Regions from separate parts of the Homo sapiens genome. Here all the other regions are linked to region 2. The links are contacts of gene promoters, found by promoter capture Hi-C in blood cells and fetal thymus (Javierre and others, 2016). All regions are on one chromosome and are shown on one strand. The core of a region is centred on a gene start or on the middle of the fragment in contact, and the rest is flanking DNA. Distances in the headings are between cores, read along the strand shown. Region 1 overlaps PMPCB (peptidase, mitochondrial processing subunit beta). Region 2 holds the start of KMT2E-AS1 (KMT2E antisense RNA 1). Region 3 has its middle 140 kb from the start of NAMPT-AS1. Region 4 has its middle 4.4 kb from the start of SYPL1. Region 5 overlaps NAPEPLD (N-acyl phosphatidylethanolamine phospholipase D). Region 6 overlaps LOC105375434. Region 7 overlaps SYPL1 (synaptophysin like 1).

Region 1 (2,830 bases), core at 146-2,645, 1.7 Mb before region 2:
TTCTTTTTAATCCTTAGGTCCCATTAAGCAACTACCAGATTTTAAACAGATACGCAGTAACATGTGTTGGCTTCGTGATTAAAATGCTCCTAATCAAGATTGTTTGAACACATGTATTTATAAAACAGAGCTAGAGAAAAATAAAAATGAACATGTATATACATTTGGAAATTTGAATTAAATACTGTATCATACTTTCAAAGGATAAAAAGACTACCCCTCTGAAGGTTGTTTTGTATTAATGGTCAGTCTTTGTTCTCTGAGAAATTATGTTGGAAGCAGCATACTTTCAAATTATTACCATGAGTATAATTTTAAGAATGAAAATGTTTACAGTATTTTCAGTTTTATTATAAAAATGCACACACAACAAAGATTGTCATTTCTTGGCTCTACTTGCATTCAGCACTTGTTCTTGAGCAGCTTTCTTTGCTTTTACCATCTCGACAAGTTCCTAGGAAGGGAGAAAGGTGTGATTTAAGAAGTTGCGATTTAAAAACAGACATTTTAATCTAGTGTTTGGTGTAAAGAATTCAAGCAACTAAGATAGATAGTACTAAATATACTGATTTCATTATCTGCCAGGGCCTAGAAAGTTTCTAAGGTTGCTCATTTCTTCCTCATAATATTGACCCCATAACTACTGGTTTTGAAATAAGCACTATATTATTAACCACTTAATAGACATAAAATATGAGCTATATCACCCAAGCTACAATTTAAAATACAACAATCTATAAACGCTTAAGTCTGCAACCTTGTATCGTTTCATGCAGTCCTTCTTTGTCCTGCCAGGCACCGCTTCTGCTATTTTTTCCCATCTTTCAGGTGTATTTACTGGGTATGTTTTCAAAGCTTGTTCCAAAAGCTTCTGTTCTTCTGTTGTCCAAGGGGTGAAGTCTGTATATGGACCTGATTAAGAAAAATTTTTATTTGAAAACTGTCTTTGAACATGTTCTCAGACAAGTCTTGTGGTCCACAAGTATTCGCTAAGTGCCCATTTCAATCTGGGATGTGTCATTTTGAAAATAAACTTGTAGAGATGAGAGATACATATAGCCCTCTGAGTGTTAATAAGAGAAAAAATTTCAGATAGCTCACATCCCAGAAAATAAAATCTCAAAGGCTTTTAAAACACAATAGTAAAGATCTACCTTGTACTGTTTATCTCTTAAAAATCAATGTAATACACTCACCAGACTGGTAAAAAGCCATATTTAAATTTATAGTACTGTTGGACTCTTGGACTCAAAAACACAACCACAATTCATTAAGAGTTCTGATAAATCTACTTCCTTACAGAATAGGTAAAAGAGCTTCCTCACAGTTAAACTTTTGCTGGATAGAAACCCTGGAAATCATTCTTGTTTTACACTGAAGGAAACAAACCTAGCAAAATTAAGCCAAGTGCCCAAGGTACCAGTGCTGGAGAGGCAAGCTGAGATTAGATTGTGTTGTAGTGTGGTGTTCTCTTCGTCACATCTGCTAAAATCTTGGGAGCCGATGCTGAACACTTCCAATAACTGCTATTGTGGTTCTTCAACTAAACCTTGTATATTTCAGAAAACATCTAAGATGTGTGTCAGAAACAAATATGTTTCTTAAGGATGTTAAGTATTACACAGTCCACTTGTGTAGGTAAAAGTAGAATGTTAAGTGGTAGAAAGCTGATTTGGTTAAGTTAATGGACTTCTGGCAATTTAGTTATTTCAGACTATGCAGTGACAACACAGACTAATACTACCAGTAGCCTGACTACTACTAGAAACTGCGGCCTGTGAGATCTGTTAAAAGTTAAGCCTAGAAACCAAAGTTCCTTCCCAATTAAAGAAGGAAAAACAAAACAAAACAAAACAAAACCACCACCTATTCAAAACAAAGCAGAGAATTTGTATAATATTTGATGGTACCTAAGGTGCCTAAGAAGCTTTTTTGAAGGTAGCTTTTAAGTTCTAGGAAGTCTTTTGTTGAATTTCCTTGTATTGGTTTAAAGCCCTAAATACCATAGATTTTATTTCCTCTCTTGGAAAAAAGATGGAAGTGACATGGCAGTATTTCCTGCTGTTCTCCAGTTACTTCACAATACCAAAATAAATTAAACGTACTGTTGCAAAACTCCTATGAGAAATCACTATTCAAAAAATGGTGCCAGCTTGCTGTTTAATGGTACAACTGAAGAGGAAGGAGCCTTCCCATTTCCATAAAAGAGGCAAAGGAGTCATACCCACATAGCACTACTGCCAGTCACTCTTGCCTTCACAGGGTCACCTCTCCTCACAGAAAGCAGACTGGACAAATATCAGGGCCCACCTCCCTCCAACATGGAAACAAGTCCCCCTAAGAAAGAGCTGAGACTAGTGTGCTAATACCTGTTGTATTTTGTGGAGATAAAGGTGCAGGAGAATAAACTCCTTTATAAAGAAGTGTCTTTCAGGTGTTCTGAAACCCTGCCTTGTTACTTACCTTTATTAAAAGAACCGAAATAATGCCTAACTCAGCCAAACAAGTCACTGCTGATTTTTGCAATGATTTTCCTCCCCTATATTAACACTGTAAGTCTCATATCTTTAAGTTGAAATTTTGGGATAATAAGCAAGATTAAAGAATATAGGTAAAACTGGGACTCTTAGAAGAAAGAAACAGCTTATGTATAGTCAAGTCTATTAATCCAAAAGCATCTTTCTGCGATTAGTTTAAGAAAGGATTGGTGGCTCACAAAACATGAAGTGAAAGAACTTTTTCCACATAAACTGCTTTCAAACCTTGTCATAGCAAGAAAAAAATTTATATCACATCCTAAACAAAGACACACGTGATCAAGAGTTTCACA
Region 2 (3,123 bases), core at 122-2,621:
GGTCACATGCGCTGCGGCGGTGGACGTGCCTCTCCCCCCGCGCCCCAAAGAGACCCAGCGCCATCTTGCCCTGACGCAGTTACAAAAGTCACGGGAGAAATCCTGTCTCCTCCTCCGCGCCAGCGCCCCAAAGTTTTGCAGAGGCCGAGCCGGGGCCCTCACCTCGCGCAGGGACAGTAGAAAATGGTCAGGGAAGAGCCTTGCGATTCCCTTCGCCACTGCTTGGGTTCCATATCGGCCGCGGCAGCAACGATCACCATCGTCACTTCTCCCTCTCTACCTTTGCAACAGCCTCCCCCTACGGCTTTGGCCCCACCCGCTGCTGCAGGATGAGGTCATCGCCAGCCAACCACGACGCGCCCGACAGGACACATCAGGCGCTGATTGGCTGCCGAGACCGCCTCTGCCTCTCCCCACTCCGCTTCCCCCAGCGCTCTGGGTCGCTGCGGGGCAAGGGGAAGACGGAAACCATTTCGGGGAAAGACCCCCAAAACAAGAGCCGGAATCGCCGTGTCATTTTAGTGGGGAAACCCTTCTTTTATTCTTTGGTCTCCCCCTTTTTTCTTCGAGATCACTGTCTGTCCCTCCCTCGTTTAATCACCGCCATATAAAGGAATTCCCACTCCCCTCCCCGCACATTGTCCCACCGGTGGGGAAATCCTTCCCCGAGGCCAAGAGAAGTATAGGAGGCAGCGACGGCAACTGCACCGACGGCAACGGCAGCTTTTTACCCCGAAGCACGGTGGCAGGGAGGCGGCGTTGACGGTGGCTGCATTTTTCCGGCTGCTTCTCCCCCCGACCTCTTCCGTTTCTTGCTCCTCCATCGAGACAGCACTAGACTCGCCAGCTCCGCTTTTATCCGGTGCCCGGAGCCTGCGCACTGGAGCCTCCTCAGCCCCTAGTGGGCGTCGAGTGACACCCCAACCGGGTTCACCCAGCGCTGGAGGCCAGACTGGGCTGGGGGAGGAGGGGGAGAGGAACGGGGAGACGGGACTGGGGTTGTTTGGGAGGGGGAGAAGGTGTATCGCTTTCGGAGGGTGACGGGAGGGAGTTCGTTCCCAAGCCCTGCTGTCCTTGTTCGTGCACCCAATACTGGCATGCCCAAGCTCACCTATATCCAGACTTGAGGGCCACTGGGGGAAAGGGGGAAAGAACCAGTCCCACCGAATACCGACACTTCCTCAAACCTTCGGTGGATTGTTGAATGCATCTGTTGTCAGAAAGACAGAGATTCCGTCCCCCTCACCGCCTCCAGTTTGCTATCTTCGAGCCTCCGCGGAGAGGCAACGGCGGGCGGCAGCCCACAAGCAAAATGGCGCCGGGCAGCTTCATCCCCTCCCCCTCTGCCCCTGCGGAGCGGGACGGGCGTACCCCGTGCACTTGCCGCCGCCGCCGCCGCCGCCGCGGCCGCCGCCGCCGCCGCCGCCATTTTCCCAGAGCGAGAGGCAGTGACACTGAGCGGGCGCAGGGGGCCGAGTCGGAGACCGTGCCGGAGTTCGGGAGCGGCAACAGAGTGGGCATAGACACTCCGAGCAGCCTCGCCGTCGTCTCTGCGTTCCTGTTGACTGCCTGGCTGCCCCCTCCCCTACTCCTCGGTTCCTGGTGAAGAGGCTGCGCGCTGCTGTTTGGGGAGGGGGTGTGTGGAGCCGGGTCCTGTGTCCGCAGTGGCTGCTGTCGGGGGGTCGCCTGTTCGCGGAGGTGCGGAGAGACTCCTTGGGGGTCGAGCACATAACGGGGTTCGGGTGTCTCGTGTGTGAACATCACAGGTTAGTGCCTGTCGTCTCCATGGGAGTTCCTGGGGCTTGCGGGGTTGGGGTACTTGTGTTTCAAGGGGGAGGGAGGTCTCTCATCTTTATCCTTAAGCTGGGGGAGCCGACGTTGACTCTCAGGTGTCTTTGCCGGCGCAAGACGTTGCTTGCTTAAATCGAATTTATTCTTTCTTCTCCCTGACCCTAGAAATGGAGCATTATGGCGGGTTTTAGGGTTGGGAAAGGGGTAACTGGCAGTTAAACCCCCTTGAGAGTGGGGGAGTTAGGGAGGGGGCGCACTCCTCATTGGCAGCGGGTTAAGGCCGCTTGAGTGAAGACGGAGGCTTGTGACTGTTAGTAGGGTTTGTGTCGAAGTGGTCCCAGGAGCTGCCAGCGCTCCCTTTTCTCAACCGCGTCTTGTTCAGGTGCTGAAAAGCCATATAGGCCCCATTTTCTTCTTCCATTTCTTGACGGGCAGTCTCTGGTATAATGTGCACATGAATACGAAGGGGGTAAGAAGAACGCCCTGGGCATCTCTCTTTGTGGGAGAGCGAGACAGCTAGCTCCTCATCCTCTCCTGGAGAGGGTAAACCCGCCCCTGAAGTGGTCACCCCAGTACCCAGCCTTCTCAGTCTCCTCCCCCACTCCTTTTGCATTACCGCCGTCCTTTACTGTGCCGGAGCCTTAGGATCTACAATATGGCTCATTTCAGAAAAGCTTATTTTGACCAAGGGATTGGCACAAATTCTATGGCAGCAGACACAGATGAGAAACAAACGGTTCACTGTGCTAAACGGGGTGGGGGTGAGAAAAAAACAATCCAGAGTGCTCTCTTCTACTGGCCTTAGTTCCGTATAGATCCGTCCTTGCTGGGCTCTGTCTTAAGAACGATACAATTTAAAGTCAAAGAGGAATCGCTAGAGTTAGCTCTAGAGTAAACCTCGTTTTGCCTATTTTGTTCCCTTTTTAGAGATGTGAATAAGGTAAGGTGTTTGGAGTTCTGGAGACCTTGGAGAGAATTAAGTGAGGTGCATTCAACTCGAGGCTGGAGACATGAATACCTATTTGGAAAATAGTCTGTTTTTTTCCTTCAATTTCTGAGATGGGGAGTAAAAACTGAAATTTCCCTCTTTTGTCCTTTACAGATTCTAAAAATGGCGGCCCCAGGCTGATGTTGTGGTAATCTAATCAGCTCGGGTCCTCCACACCCCATGCAGTGCGTTTGTCTGCAGCATATTACAGGCTTATTATGTTTACATGAAAAGACTGGGCTGTTTTTCCTTCCCCGAGCCAGTTACAAAAATGTGTTGATTTTTTACTGCAAATTACAGTGCTGTGTTTTAGCTGATTAATTTGATTCGTTTTTCCTGAAAGG
Region 3 (2,986 bases), core at 293-2,792, 1.4 Mb after region 2:
AACCCCACCAGGACCACCCCAGTCTCCATTCTAGTCCTGGTCCAGTGCAACTGAACCTAGTAGGTGCTTCTATTTCCCCCTCCTGTGAAGAGAGTCTTTCCTAGGAGACTCCATCACTCAGGTATGCAGACCCACAGGTAGGTTGAGCCACACATCATCCTGGCATTCACAGACTTACATCTAAATCCTAATCAGGGAGAGGAAGAGGACACAGCTATCTTAAGCTCAGGTTCCAGGTACAAAGTAATGAATGGGTAATTGGATAAATTACTGAATAAAAGAGGGAGAGAGAAATGGAATGAAAAGAAAAAGGGAAGGAAGGTAGATAAGTAAAAAGAAGAAAATAAAAGATTCTGGAAAGTAGTTCCTAACCCAAGTTCCAATCTCTCTCTCTCTCTCTCTTTCTCAATCATGATGGGATGGGGAGGGCAGAGGAATATGTTAGGACAGACTCCTCCACTTCCGTTCAAGTACCAATAACTAGATGTAGAAAGAAAGTATGCAAATTAGAAGACTAATGTTCTAAAATGAGTAAGAGCCTATTTGCTCACTCTTGGCTCTTAGGAAACTAGAGAACTCATGGGGAAGGCAGGCAAACAGAAGCAAGATTTCATCAGAACACTGGCCCCTTGTCAATTTATCACTCTGGTGAAACAGCGTGACGCTTGGGATTTCCCCAGAACGTCAAACTGCAATTTTACATGTGCTGCTTGGAAGCAAGCTGTGTAACTTCCTGTAATAAGGATTTCAAGTATTCAAGCAATAAATCTGAGATGCCAGAGCCTCTCTTAACACTGTCCTGTAGCTCAGCAACTCCAAATTAGCACAGCTCCACACATCCAAAGCCTGGAAAGGGTGGAAGATGAATATGAACGGACAGATCCCTCATGCTCACCCTTGGTGGTGAATTGAGTCATCAGCTGAGTATGGAAAGGAGTGGGGAACAAGCTCACAGGCTCTTTGTCTCCTTCGACTTTTGTTTCACATTTGCCAGGAGGTAAGGCCTTCATACCTGCAGCTGGGTCAAGTATCTGGAAACACGTGGGCTGCCAGCAGAGCCACTTCATGTCAGCATCAGAGTACAAAGTGAGTGTGAGACTGAGTGAGAATGTGAACTGCCAGGGTATTCCTACCCGTGTGGCCCAGGCCTGGCTGCAGGGAGGGCAAAGTCTGGCTGCAGGGAGGGGAAAGGTCAGCTACAGGTCCCACCACACATGTCCTCCAACTGCACTTTCCTTGTTCTAGCTTGGCATCAGCCCACCTTGCTGTGTGCCTTGCATGCCTCCTTCCTCTTCCTTTAGGAGGGGATAGAAGGGTCCAGCTGAGGATAAATACAACAATCAAGTCTTAGATAGCATTTGACAGCTATTTGATGAATGAATAAATAATAGATGCATAAATAAATGAATGAACAAATAAGCCAACAACTGGGTGTCAACAGGCAGACACGCACATTTTACAAATAGGTATTTCCCTACTTCTCCAGCGTGATAGAGTGGAGATCAATGGCTTTCACAATATCTTGTTAAACCTGAAAGTTTAACGAAAATATTCTCTTTTACTGAGTCCTTGTTAAATTAAAGAAAATTAGAAACAGCTACATATAGCCAGGGTAGGGGAAGGGGATGGTTGGGTAAGAAACCGAGAAACTTGAAGAAGGGGAGCAGATCATTCTGGTGGAGTAGGGACACCTGCCTTACCTGCACTCAAACATTCCCAAGTGTCGACTCCCAATTCCCAGTGAAGGCTGGAGGGGTGATGTTAATACCTCACACTGATAATCCACAGTGCCTCTCCTCAGGGTCCGCTGACTCTGACACCTTTCCCTTCCCCACTCTCCTCCCTCTTCCCTTCTAGCTCAAAGTTTGGGTGAGACTGAAAAGCCAATCTGGCTCCCACTTGCAGAGGAATCAAGGCCCCCAGAGTTTCAGAACCCAGAGGGCCCTTCGCTTAACACAGCACCTTCCTGAGAACTAGAAACAGGCGTCCCGATGGTAGTCACAGCTTCACAGGTGCATGGGGAAGTGAATGAAGATGTTGCCTTGTGTTAATTAGAAAAATATTCAATATCAGTCCTGGTCCTGGCGGGAAACAGATGACACAGTCAAAGTGGATAATGAAGGAAAGTGTGAGGGGAAGGCACCATTTACAAAGACGTGGGTGGGATTTAGGCAAACCTGCAAGGAATGGTATGGTATCCTGGGGCTAGCAACAGTGGGGAGCCCTGAGAGACAAGGAGAGAGAGAGCCCTGTACTGAGACAAAGCAAGAACTGTAGCTTTGGAAGCTGTGACCTTCAGAAAGGGAGAGAGACAATCAATGGCCCTCAGTAAGGAGAGGAGCCAAGAGAAACGCTCTTCCCTTTGCTCTCCTGCCAGCACCCCCAACGGTGGAACTCAGCCAGGTGCTGGAGGGAGGGGGGTGGGCCATGTCATCCACACAGGCCAGCCAGCCAGGGCACAGAGGAGGGTGGGAAGTGGGTCCAGAGAGGTGATGGGAAGCATCCTCATGGGTACCCCTTTCCCAGGCAGATGCAACCCTGTCCGTACACTCCCAAGGAGCCTCGCACAGGCTGCAGGTCAGCCTCGCTCTCTCCCGGGCCAGAAGCCCTTTTGCACGGCAAGACTTGCATAATCATATGTGACAGTCCTAACAGCCTTTGAGGACTATACCCCTTTTCATGTGTAAAAATATTACAAAAGGATCCCATGTCCCAAAATAAATAGAGAAAAACAAAACATTGCAAGCAGCTATCTCCAGCAACCATGTTTCTATTCTTCCAATTTGGCTCCACTTTCTCCACCAGCCTTTTTTTCTCTTCAGCAAATGGCACAACCTTCCACCTGGTCACCTGAGGCAGAAACCTGCTATTGCTTTGACCATCTCCTCCTTCATCTTCCACATCCAAATGAATGGTCACCAGCATGTTGGGTCCCTGCTGGAAGTCCATCACCACCTGTTTATTCCTACTGCATTGCCACAGGCCC
Region 4 (2,959 bases), core at 94-2,593, 1.1 Mb after region 2:
ATGTTCCAGGTCTACTCTACCAGGGCTATTTGGAAAAGAATCCCTGTAATATAAAATGGTTCTGTCTATCTGAGGTAGTATTATTGAGCTTTATCTGTGGTGGTATAATTATGGCTAAGTTACCTACATAATTTGTCATTGTTTTACTTTCTCTCTGTGGCTTTGAACACATGTGCCAGACTGTGACACTTGGGATTTAGGAATGCTCAGAAGGCCAGAAAGGAAACTATATTTAGTCAACCATATATTAACTATATTAGACATCTCATTGGCTAACTATAATATTTTTTGTTTTTCTCAATGGGAATACAAAGTTTTGGTCATCTTATTGGCAAGATGAGACTTTGTAACTCATTCCCAACCAATATTTATCTCCTTTTCTGAAAAGATATTGTTTAATACCAAATTCAAAACCTGACTTTTGCTTATAAACACAAATAGGTGTTTTGTTTTCGCTAATGAATTCAATAATCATTTTAGAAAAATTTTAAGATAACCAAATTTATTTAAATTGTACAATAGATGGATTTAATAGGCTCAGTAAATTAATCTCAAAGTAATCTGAGGCCTCTTAAACTTTTCATTTTAAAACATATTTTGATTTATGAATTGCAAAGTACAAAGAGTTCTGTATACACTTCACCCAGTTTCCCCTAATGTTAACATCTTCTATAACCATCATACATTTGTCAAAACAAAAAAAATTAGTATTGATGTGTTACTACTGACTAAACTAAAGAATTTTTCAAACTTCATCAGTTGTCCACTAATGTCTTTTTTACTCCCCCAGGATCCAATCCAGGAAACCACATTTAATGTAATGAGTGTCACAGGTGATCAGAAACTATCTGGGGCCAGTGGTACAGGCAGTAAGAAGAATTTACCAAGACAGTCGTAGGTAAAGAAAGGCAGATTTATTTGAGAACGTAGGAAAATGTATTGCAAGGGTGCAACAGGCAGGTCAGCGAAAGAGGAGCTGACTGCAAAGAGTCAAAAGCTTGCTAGGGATTTTATAGGATGGTGCTTGTGCTCTGCGCTTGAAGAAGACTTTGTGCAGTATTGGTAATGCCGAGGTTGCAGTGAGCTAACTTGCATTTTTCTGTCAGCCAAGAGTCAGGTGGTAGCTCGGCACAGGAAGATTGTGAGTGATTTACACATGAGGGCTATGTGTCCTGGACCATGAAGAAAGGCAGACTTATAGCTTATCTATCTGCTTTCTCGTTTTGCTTTCCCCTGGTCCTGCCAGCCTGACTCCTTCTCCTGAATTAGGACTCTACCTTTCTTCACACCCTGACAGCAACAATGACTAATCTTTGGCATGTGGTTAAAGGTCTCATCTTCCAACTGCTTCTTGCTGACCAGGGGTGTATAGTTGGCCCTACCTAGGATTGTTAGTCGGTCAGGAGGTTATGTACACCTAAATCCCTGAGTTGGGACTTAAATTGGTCAGGGTTGCTATGAGACTATGGGAGAACAGCATTTGTAGCCTAAAATTTTGTTCTGCTGCATTCAAAGGAAAGTTATGTAGCTGATACCTTTGCTGTAGTACTGTTTTGGTTTGAAATTGTTGTATCCTAGAAAACACAAAATCAGATGTAGAATTAACAATACAGTATGCAAATAAACAAACTAATATGAGCTTTATTATAGGCAGAAGAAGTTGAGCAACCCATGGCCAAATTTAACTGGAGAAGCTTTGAAATAGTTGTGCTGAAAAGGAATCTTGAGGAACTCTGTTTTGAAGGCCCTTTAATATTTTTATGTTGTCTGTTATCTTTTCTAAACTTTCTTCTACCTGACCTGAGTTACTGATGTAAAAGCAACAAGTTTTATTTAACAGCATGCAGGTGCCTCCTGCTTCAGCAGGAAGCACCTCCTAAGTGAGTTGGTTCTGCAAAACATACCCTGCCAGCGAGTTCAGGGCCTGCCATTGGCCTTCAATGGCCGTGATTGTAGCTTCCCAAGATTGCTGGACTAGGATGGTGAGATTATGAATACTGCACTTAAGCATGGGTATATCTGCAAACCAAAAGATTGCACTGGCTACAGAATGTCCTAGGTCATTTTTCTCTATGACAGGATTATTATTGGCGAGGATGCTAAATGATGGGAGACTAAGTACTGCTTCTGATGTCCTTTGGAGGGACCAACATAAGAAGGATTTTAAATTTGGAGCTTGGCTAGAGGTTACGAAGTCTGAGGAGTTATATATGTGCACTCCAGATATTGCTGCAACTGTAGTGTAAGTGCCTCTTCACTTAATAGACAAGGCTAGAAATATGTTAGATCTGTATAAAAAGAAGAACCCAGTTCCTTTTAATGAAACTCCTGAAGAGGAACCTCACAACCAGGCATAGGTGTGATTAGTTTAGATTCCCGTATGGTTTGCATAAATAGAGGGATCCCATGGTCCCCTGGGATTAAATGTGGATGGGCAGTGACCCAAAAAGTAGTTATCCACGCATAAGGGGGTAAAAGTTTGACTTGTAGTGTTATGTGAATGTGGGGCCTGACAGATATGATTTTTGAATATTAATGGGATAAGAGAAAATTGAGGAAAAGATGTAGATGTATTAGTGAAGTTGAGAAGTCGTCCAGTTTTGACTGCTATTTCTATATGTTCCATCCTGGCTGCTGAACTATTTATAGGCATAAAGGAATTGTTATAAATCTTTCTGGCATGAACTTTGTTGTTTCCTCACCATAGAGAAAAACTGTGGAGGTACACAGTGAACTTGTTAAGAGTCATTGCATGGCTTCCATTCTGGTTTGTTTGATCATAGCTGACAGTGTAATTGCAATGGACTTGTGTGTTAAAGCCCCTGGGAAAGGGCCAGACTCCTTGGAATTTCTAGCATTATAAGCCATCTCTGGTGCCCTCCCTATTTGCTCGGTCACCGTGGGTGATTGGCATGAGGGATCGATTGGCCTAGGTTTACCTCATAAACCTGTATTTTTG
Region 5 (2,765 bases), core at 111-2,610, 1.9 Mb before region 2:
GAGTTCGAGACTAGCCTGGCCAACACAGTGAAGGCTCGTCTCTACTAAAAATTCAAAAATTAGTCGGGCGTGGTGGCGCGTGCCTGCAGTCACAGCAACTTGGGAGCCTGAGGCAGGAGAATTGCTTGAACCCAGGAGGCGGAGGTTGCGGAGACTCCGTCTAAAAAGAAAATGATGTACTTAGGGAAGACAACTCTGATAGCAGGATTAAAAAGAAAGGAAGTGGCTAAAAACTGGAGCTTGGGAGATGGATTGAATGAAAACAGAAGAAGCCTAGAACACCCAATAACACTGAACCACCATGCCACATATTTCACCTATTTCATTTAAACTCATGCTCCTAGCAAACCCTCAAGGTAGGTATTATAATCCCCACTTTTTAATAGTGAATAGCAACCCAGTCAAAAGATGAGGAGGCAGTGCAATGAGAAGAGAAAAAGCAGAATAAATCCAAGAGACAACAAAGAAGATGAATCAGTAAGACTTGAGAGTATTTGGATAGTCACAAATTTTGGACTTTGTAGGGCTGGTTGGTCAGGAGGAGAGTGGGAAGAGTCAGAAATGGCAGCACCACTAATCAAGGTGGATTGTGACCCAGTGAGTTTGAGAAGGGTTTGAGGTCATGGGAAAGCAAGAACCCAAGAGAAAGTCCTCATTGACACCCAAAGGAAATGGATTCAGGCTGCTTTAGGGGTAAAAATAAATAAATAAATAAAATAAAAAATAAAAATAAAAATAAATAAATTAGCCCACTGTGGTGTTGCAGGCCTGTAGTCCCAGCTACTGGGAGGATCCCTTGAGCCCAGGAAGTTGAGGCTGCAGTGAGCTGTTATCATGCCACTGCACTCCAGCCTGGGCGACAGAGCGAGACTCCGTCTCAAAGAAAGAAAGAAAGAAAAGAAACAAAAAGAAGAGAAAAGAAAAAATTGGTGCAGTGATCTTTCTTCTCTCTAAATAATAAGCTTTTTCAAAGTTGTCTATTCACACAATCTCCATTTCCTCACCTCCCATCCACTCAGTCTTTCACCCCAATCAATCTGTGGAAACAGGTCTCATTACCAAATAGCCATCCTCTCCTAACAAACCCCCTCCCCTAACACACACAAAGTCCAGTTTTCAGAAATGCTCTTTAAAAAACAAAAAACAAAAAAATCTGATACAAACAAAACGAAAAAACCTCCAAAGGGTTTTTTGAGGGCAAAGGTCAGCATGATGGTTCACAGGGTCTGTGTTTCTAACCTTACCCACACTCTCCACACTCTCCTCTGCTCCATAAACACGGCCTGAAACTATTTCCTCAGATGTATCATGTACCCACTTCAGGGCGACCAACTGCCACGTTGTCATATCCTTGGGGTATGGGGAAATGTATAGTCACAGGATTATGGACTGCCATCCATGACAGATGTTAAAGCAACACAAAATGATCAAACTATGAAACACCATTTCACACGATGCACTGTTGAAAGGGCAAGAAGGAGCAGAAGCACGTAAAACCTGAGCCTTGAAACTCTGGACTGGTTTTTCTGGAGGAAAAATACTGGGAGCCCATTTGCTGAATGTGCAAAATGACACGCTCTGCCAACAGGTGCTCCAGTGACAAAGGAGCCTCAGCCCGAGAGTGGGTCACACAAGAACGCTCCTCATGCCCAGTGTCTTCTGGGCACTCAGAAGACCACAGATAAAATGACAGAAAAAGTAGGAATGAGGAAGAGTGGGTTGTCTGTATGGTCCTGTGTTAACTAGCTTTGAGCTCTTCAAGCTTGACAAACCCCTTAACATATCTAGCTAGAGTTTCTGTAATTAAATGTGGCAAATTTCAAACTATTTCTTGTTATGTAACTGTTTCCAAAATTAACAATGTAAATGAAAATAATCCACCCTTGATTTCAGGCCAACACCAACTGAAAGTAGATGTGTACATGAATACACAAAAACTGTAAACAACCTGTGTTTCAAAAAGTGCTTTAAAACTTGATAAAGATCTTTCCATTGTACTGATTTTGATTCAATTTAAGATCCATGAATTCTGAAAGAGCAATCTAAACAAATAAGTAATAAATAAATAAAAATACCATGAATTGTAAGGCACCCTGATGTGTCATGTGCCACTAAGGAAGTAAAAATGTTATCAATTATAGTTAGGTCACACGTTATACATGACATATAGTGATATCAGTGGTGTTAAAATGTGAATAAAATGTCTATCTCAAAATGGATGAAATATAGCATTTTGTGTTGGAAAATAAATACGTTGGGACAGGAGTGAAAACATTGCTCTTGATAATTAAATATAATCAGAAGCATAATTAATTGCTCATCCTCTTTCCCTCTGTGAACAACAGTTAGTTATAAACATACCAAATGCTAAATTTGTTCTAGAAAACTAGAATCCAGAAGAAAATTTAAAGGTAACAAACCCCTGTGACAATTGTATTTTAAATATAAAATACAAATGTTCTAGCCAGGCACAGTGGCTCATGCCTGTAATCCCAGCACTTTGGCAGGCCGAGGCAGGTGGATCACCTCAGGTCGGGAGTTCGAGACCAGCCTGGCCAACATGGTGAAACCCCATCTCTACTAAAAATACAAAAATTAGCTAGGCATGGTGGTGTATGCCTGTAGTCCCAGCTACTCAGGAGGCTAAGGCAGGAAAATCACTTGAACCCTGGAGGCAGAGGTTGCAGTGAGCCGAGATTCCAGCCTGAGCGACAGAGTGAGACTCCATCTCAAAATAAATAAATAAATAAAAATAAAAAATAAAA
Region 6 (2,747 bases), core at 212-2,711, 1.9 Mb before region 2:
ACGGACTGTCATAGCCAACTCAATCACAGTCGAGAAGCATTTGAATACTTACAGCCTATGGCGCTAGGATCCTGGTAGCGAAGAAACTAAACTCTAATTTGAAATGTTGTACAGTACGTATTGAATATTAATGGGAGCACGGCATTGTTCACTGTGTGATCGTTTACTTTTAAAATGATGTCACAGCCCCCTGGTACACACGGTTCTCATCTAAATTTGCATCTTTTTTAACGCTAGGATAACTATGAAAGAGCATACGATTGTGATTCTGAGTTTCTTACTGGATTTGCTTTTTAAACTGCAGAATGAAATTAGTTGTTTCAAGAAGTAAAGTACAGGCATGTCGAAGTAAAATTCAACAATGGGTTGTTGGGCAAAAAGATTATAAAAGTCCTGGGGTGTGCCAGGGTCAAAAAAAAAAAAAAAAGCTTGTCCCTGGGGTTATCTTGGCAAAAAAGAAACCACCACCACAGGTTCTAAATGCAGATAAGACTGGCAGAAAAATGCAGACCAAACTATTCTGCATTTTGAAAGTGAATGTGCCTGTGTGACATTGGAGGAATGTAAAGAACTGTATGTCAAGTGTGGACTTTATCTCCTCAGGCTAGCTTAGAGTGGCTGCTGAACTTAAGGGTGATTAAGAGCTGCTTGCACCTGGGTGGAGCTGAAACTGCATAAGGTGAATAATACCTTTGTGCAACAGAAGAAAAAAAAAAAAGTAACAGCATACATACAAACCCAAAGGGTAAGTTGAAGTTACTACTCAAAAGTTCTTCATAGTGTTCTTGACTAAGCAACGGAGAAGTAATCCCGGCACTTTGGGAGGGCAAGGCAGGAGAATCCTTAGAGCCCAGGAGTTGGAGACCAACTTGGGCAACATAGCGAGACTTCATCTCTACAAATAATAATTAAAAAAAAAAAAAAGTAGCCAGCCTTGATGGCCCGCCCTTGTGGTCCCAGCTACTCCAGAGGCTGAGGTGGGAGGATCGATTGAGCCTGGGAGATCAAGGCCGCAGTGAGCTGTGATCACGCCACTACACTCCAGCCTGGGCAACAGAGAAGACCCCATTTCCCCAAAAAAAAAAAAAAAGCTGGGCGCAGTGGCTCACGCCTGTAATTCCAGCACTTTGGGAGGCCAAGGCAGGAGGATCACCTGAGGTCAGGAGTTCGAGACCAGCCTGGCCAACATGGCGAAACCCTGTCTCAAGTAAAAATACAAAAACTAGCTAGGCATAGTGGAGCTCACCTGTAATCCCAGCTACTAGGGAGGCTGAGGCAGTAGAACTGCTTGAACCCCAGAGATGGAGGTTGCAGTGAGCAAAGATGGCACCACTGCACTCCAGCCTGGTAGACAGAGCAAGACTCTGTCTCAAAAAAAAAAAAAAAAAAAAGATGCCCTTTGTTCCCCTCACTCCCACTCTTTTTTTTTAAGTCCTTGTCCTTTATTGGTTAAGGCTGAGGGAAGCAGACAGACCAGTTGGACATAGTAGATGGGTGTGTGAGGTCAAAGTGCTACCTGAAAGCCAGCCAACCCACACTCCCCTAAGATGAATGCTAATGCCCTTCAAACTGTGGGCATTGGTTTCACACACAGCCTCTTCCAGGGATAAAAGAAGGGGTTCTTGTAAAGCCTCTTCTTTTTTCTTTTTTTTTTGAGACGGAGTCTCGTTCTGTCACCCAGGCTGAAGTGCAGTGGCCAGATCTTGGCTCGCTGCAACCTCTGCCTCCCAGATTCTCCTGCCTCAGCCTCCTGAGTAGCTGGGACTACAGGTGCCCACCACCATGCCCGGCTAATTTTTGTCTTTTTAGTGGACATGGGGTTTCACCATGTTGGCCAGGCTGATCTCGAACTCCTGGCCTCAAGTGATTTGCCCGCCTGGGCCTCCCAAAGTGATAGGCTTGAGCCACCGCCACCCGGCAGCTTCTTGTTTTCTTACCTCTACCATGGAGACAAGTTCTGGTTTTCTTAGGACAACTAGCTCTGGTCATAAAGATCTCTGGAGTGATCAAGTATGGTGGAGTGGCAGAGTGAGTGTTCCAAAAGGATAAGTAGAACAGGAGTCTTGCCCAGGCCCTATTACAACCTCAGTACCTTGAATGGCCTCCCCAGCCCAACCAGAAGTTGACAAAGAGGCATGAACCTGGTGAAAAGATACATGTATTTATAATTAGCCAGCTGGACTCAGTTTAGATGACCCCAATTTTGTTGGCAATATCCCAGTTTTGTTGGGTCAGCAACAAAGTTGATCCCAATTTTGTTGGCAATATCCAAAGCATTGTAATCAGGAGCCAGTGGAGCTTATGCCTTCTTCCTGCATCAGGCCTAATCAGGGCATGGACTTTGGCCACATCAGTGTCATAGAGCTTCTTCACAGCCTGTTTGATCTGGTGCTTGGTGGCTTTAACATCCACAGTGAACACAAGTGTGTTGTTGTCTTCTATCTTCTTCATGGCAGACTCAGTGGTCAGAGGAAACTCTGTGACAGCATAGTGGTCAAGCTTGTTTCTCCTGGGGACGCTCTTCTTAAGGGAGGAGACCACCCCTCATATTGTCTTATGCCCAGTTTCTGCCTCCAAAGAAAGAAAAAGTAAAAACTAAAAGGCAGAAATGAAATCCACAAGCAGACAGCCAGGCACCACACCCTGGGCCTGGTAGTTAAAGATCGACCCCTGACGTAATTGGTTATATTATCTACAGATTGCAGACATTGTATAGAAAAGCACTGTGAAAATCCCTATCCTGTTTT
Region 7 (2,700 bases), core at 132-2,631, 1.1 Mb after region 2:
CAGTACAGGGTGGTGGAAACCAAATGGCCAATAAATACAGGAAAGGACCACCAACCTAAATAGCAATCAGAGTAACATAAATTTTAAAGCATCAAAGACACAATTTCAAACTTATCAGATTGGCAATAGTCCAAAAACATCAAGTTATTGGCAATATGGAGCAAGAGGAAATCTTACTTATTGCTGGTGGGAGACTAACTTGTTACAGACATTTTGCTGAACAATTTGGAATACCTAGGTTACAATGGAAAACATGAACATCTCACATTCCAATAGTTCCCATTTCTAGTGATAGGTCTTAGAGAAGCCTTCACACACTGCAGAAGAATATTTGTGTGCTATTTTTAATAGTGAAAGGTAGGAAAAATGTAACTTTACCTCAGTAAGGAAAAGGCTTTATCTGTAATGTTTTATTTCCTTTAAAAAAAATCTGATGCAAAGCCAGGTGCGATGGCTCATGCCTGTAATCCCAGCACTTCGGGAGGCCGAGGTGGGTGGAGCGCCTGAGGTCAAGAGTTTGAGACCAGCCTGGCCTACATGGTGAAACCCCATCTCCACTAAAAATAAAAAAATTAGCCCGGCATGGTGGCGAGCACCTGTAATCCTAGCTACTTGGGAGGCTGAGGCAGGAGAATCACTTGAACCCGGGAGGTGGGGGTTGCAGTGAGCTGAAATCGCGCCATTGCACTCCAGCCAGGGCAACAAGAGTGAAACTCCATCTCAAAAAAAAAAAAAAAAAAAAAAATCTGATGCAACGCTGGGTGAGGTGGCTCACACCTGTAATCCCAGCACTTGGGAGGCTGACGCAGGAGGACTGCTTGCGCCCATGAGTTTGAGACCAGCCTGGGTAATATAGTGAGAACTCGTCTTTACAAAAAATGTTTTCAATTACCAAGCATGGTGACACGTGCCTGTAGTCCCAGATACTGAGAAGGCCAAGGTGGGAGGATCACTGGAGCCTGGCAGGTGGAGGTTAACAGGGAGCTGAGATGGCGCCACTGCATTCTAGCTTGGGTGACAGAGTAAGACCCTGTCTCAACAAACAAACATCTGATGCAAATAAAGCATTTGTTAAATATTATTTTGTATACTTACCTATTAATCTGAAATACTATATGAAAAAATTTTAAATGTGAAACATAAGCAATATTGCCTTTAACATTTACAGTAGGTTAAACATCTATTCAACTGACCTCTGTTCACTAAAACATTAGTAATGCTCATCTTTTTTATAAATAATTCTCTACAACCTAACACCTAGTAAGTAAAGCTTTTATTGCTTCTCTCCTGGAAATTATCCTATAAATGGGTTAACCTTGTAATGTTGATTCAAAAGCACAAAGGGAAAAGGCAATAGAAGTCCTTTTAAGATCTACTTTAATCTCAATACTTTTAAGTTTTAAATTTTGATCTCATTAACCTTATGAATGTCAACCAACAGAAAAATAAAACACACCAAAAGATCCAGAACTCTTTAAGGATTGTAAAGGGACAAGCTTGAAAGCCTGACGCCAATCCTCTCTTTGTCCAAAACCACCACCCTAACGGCTCCAGCCCCATGAATTCCTAGTTTAAGAATCTCTATATCAGATGCTATCAAAAGTTAGTAATCGTAGCTAACATTTATAGAGTGCCTACTAAATGCGGAACACTGTTCTAAGGGCTTTACATTTGTTAATTCACTTTTAAATCATAAACACACTGAGATCAGGAAAGTGGTTTAACTATTCTTAGTTTCAGTTCCCCGTAGTACAGTACAGTAAGATATTCTGAGAGACCATATTCACATAACTTTTACTACAGTATGGTTTTAATTGTGCCACTTCATTATTAGTCCTTGTTAATCTCTTACTGTGCTCAATTGATAAACTTTATTATAGGTGCATGTATGGATAGGAAAAAAGACAGTTCACATAGGGCTTGGTACTACACTTGGTTTCAGGCATCCCAGGGGGTCTTGAAACATATCCCCAGTAAACAGGAGGGAACTACTTACTTTATTTCCGACTTCCACATAAGCAAACTGAGGCACACAGAGGGCAATTTGCCTACAGTTAAACAGCTAGTAAGTGGTGTAGACAAGATTCAAATCTAGGCAGTTCGGTTGCAGAGCACACACTCTTAAGCAGGAATCTTTGCTAGTTAATTAGACAATTAATGAGAAAAGGTATATCAGGAAAACAATCTAAGAGTTGCAAATAAGTATTTTCTAAATGAGGTCGGAAGAAAAAAGGATAGAACCATAGTCTCCAAAGCATTTCTGTCTGTTTTATTCCTTGCCAAACATTAAAACTGTGATTCTATTTCCTGCTTTGAAAATCAGTTCTGTTTTGCACTGCTCAATGCCTTTAAGATGAAGGTTTCTTTGTAATATTAACAATCAGTGCACTCTTTCTTTCAACTCCTTTATTAAATTGGTTGCAAAAAAGATATACATTCTTATATTGACAATTCTTGTCATGAATAAAAGCATCAAAAATAAGGCAACAGCAAGATGTGCTTCACATATAAACAATCATGTTGTAAGAATAAGAAACCTGAATCCCTGTACAACAAAAAGATTAGGAAGCAAAATGTGAATAAGCTTGTATTCAGAATATACCTATATGTGTGTGCAAAGACAATACACTCATCATATACCTCACTTAGGTTCCTTTATGATGCATAATTCCTTAATCATTCATTTGTGAAACAAGAATG

What was found. The method cuts DNA at HindIII sites, captures the fragments that hold promoters and counts their contacts. A CHiCAGO score of 5 or more calls a contact.
Region 1: a contact is called between a fragment that was not itself captured here and the fragment with the promoter of KMT2E-AS1 in region 2, in 7 of 17 cell types (naive B cells, naive CD8 T cells, M2 macrophages and 4 more). The highest score is 8.3, in naive B cells.
Region 3: a fragment that was not itself captured here is called in contact with the fragment with the promoter of KMT2E-AS1 in region 2 in 1 of 17 cell types (neutrophils); the score reaches 7.2 in neutrophils.
Region 4: a contact is called between a fragment that was not itself captured here and the fragment with the promoter of KMT2E-AS1 in region 2, in 2 of 17 cell types (activated CD4 T cells and fetal thymus). The highest score is 5.9, in activated CD4 T cells.
Region 5: a contact is called between a fragment that was not itself captured here and the fragment with the promoter of KMT2E-AS1 in region 2, in 1 of 17 cell types (erythroblasts). The highest score is 5.1, in erythroblasts.
Region 6: a fragment that was not itself captured here is called in contact with the fragment with the promoter of KMT2E-AS1 in region 2 in 1 of 17 cell types (erythroblasts); the score reaches 8.7 in erythroblasts.
Region 7: a fragment that was not itself captured here is called in contact with the fragment with the promoter of KMT2E-AS1 in region 2 in 1 of 17 cell types (total B cells); the score reaches 8.9 in total B cells.

What each region holds. Positions count from the first base shown.
Region 1 is chr7:103,312,190-103,315,019 of GRCh38, forward strand. It overlaps PMPCB (peptidase, mitochondrial processing subunit beta), which reads left to right. Exons shown (of 13, transcript NM_004279.3): 13 at 18-2,497. The coding sequence ends at 82. DNAJC2 (DnaJ heat shock protein family (Hsp40) member C2) reads right to left here. Exons shown (of 17, transcript NM_014377.3): 16 at 758-912; 17 at 100-454. The coding sequence ends at 380. Among named protein-coding and RNA genes, the nearest start is that of PMPCB, 16 kb to the left of the region's middle. The HindIII fragment of the contact is 1,059 bases long and covers 867-1,925 here.
Region 2 is chr7:105,012,770-105,015,892 of GRCh38, forward strand. KMT2E-AS1 (KMT2E antisense RNA 1) reads right to left here and starts at 1,372. Exons shown (of 1, transcript NR_024586.1): 1 at 1-1,372. It overlaps KMT2E (lysine methyltransferase 2E (inactive)), which reads left to right and starts at 1,436. Exons shown (of 27, transcript NM_182931.3): 1 at 1,436-1,766. RefSeq lists enhancers at 1-355, 445-984, 776-825, 1,146-1,265, 1,526-1,755 and silencers at 976-1,025, 1,376-1,465. The HindIII fragment of the contact is 4,615 bases long and covers 1-2,463 here.
Region 3 is chr7:106,424,500-106,427,485 of GRCh38, forward strand. No RefSeq gene overlaps it. Among named protein-coding and RNA genes, the nearest start is that of NAMPT-AS1, 140 kb to the left of the region's middle. RefSeq lists enhancers at 256-1,455, 839-938. The HindIII fragment of the contact is 4,359 bases long and covers 1-2,986 here.
Region 4 is chr7:106,115,222-106,118,180 of GRCh38, forward strand. No RefSeq gene overlaps it. Among named protein-coding and RNA genes, the nearest start is that of SYPL1, 4.4 kb to the left of the region's middle. The HindIII fragment of the contact is 697 bases long and covers 996-1,692 here.
Region 5 is chr7:103,131,906-103,134,670 of GRCh38, forward strand. The region is part of intron 1 of NAPEPLD (N-acyl phosphatidylethanolamine phospholipase D); the gene reads right to left. Among named protein-coding and RNA genes, the nearest start is that of NAPEPLD, 16 kb to the right of the region's middle. The HindIII fragment of the contact is 800 bases long and covers 961-1,760 here.
Region 6 is chr7:103,149,820-103,152,566 of GRCh38, forward strand. LOC105375434 reads left to right here. Exons shown (of 3, transcript XM_047421168.1): 2 at 1-745. The coding sequence ends at 1. It also overlaps a transcript of NAPEPLD not described here and the pseudogene RPL23AP95. Among named protein-coding and RNA genes, the nearest start is that of NAPEPLD, 2.1 kb to the left of the region's middle. The HindIII fragment of the contact is 2,071 bases long and covers 427-2,497 here.
Region 7 is chr7:106,088,114-106,090,813 of GRCh38, forward strand. It overlaps SYPL1 (synaptophysin like 1), which reads right to left. Exons shown (of 5, transcript NM_182715.4): 5 at 2,392-2,700. Among named protein-coding and RNA genes, the nearest start is that of SYPL1, 23 kb to the right of the region's middle. The HindIII fragment of the contact is 226 bases long and covers 1,269-1,494 here.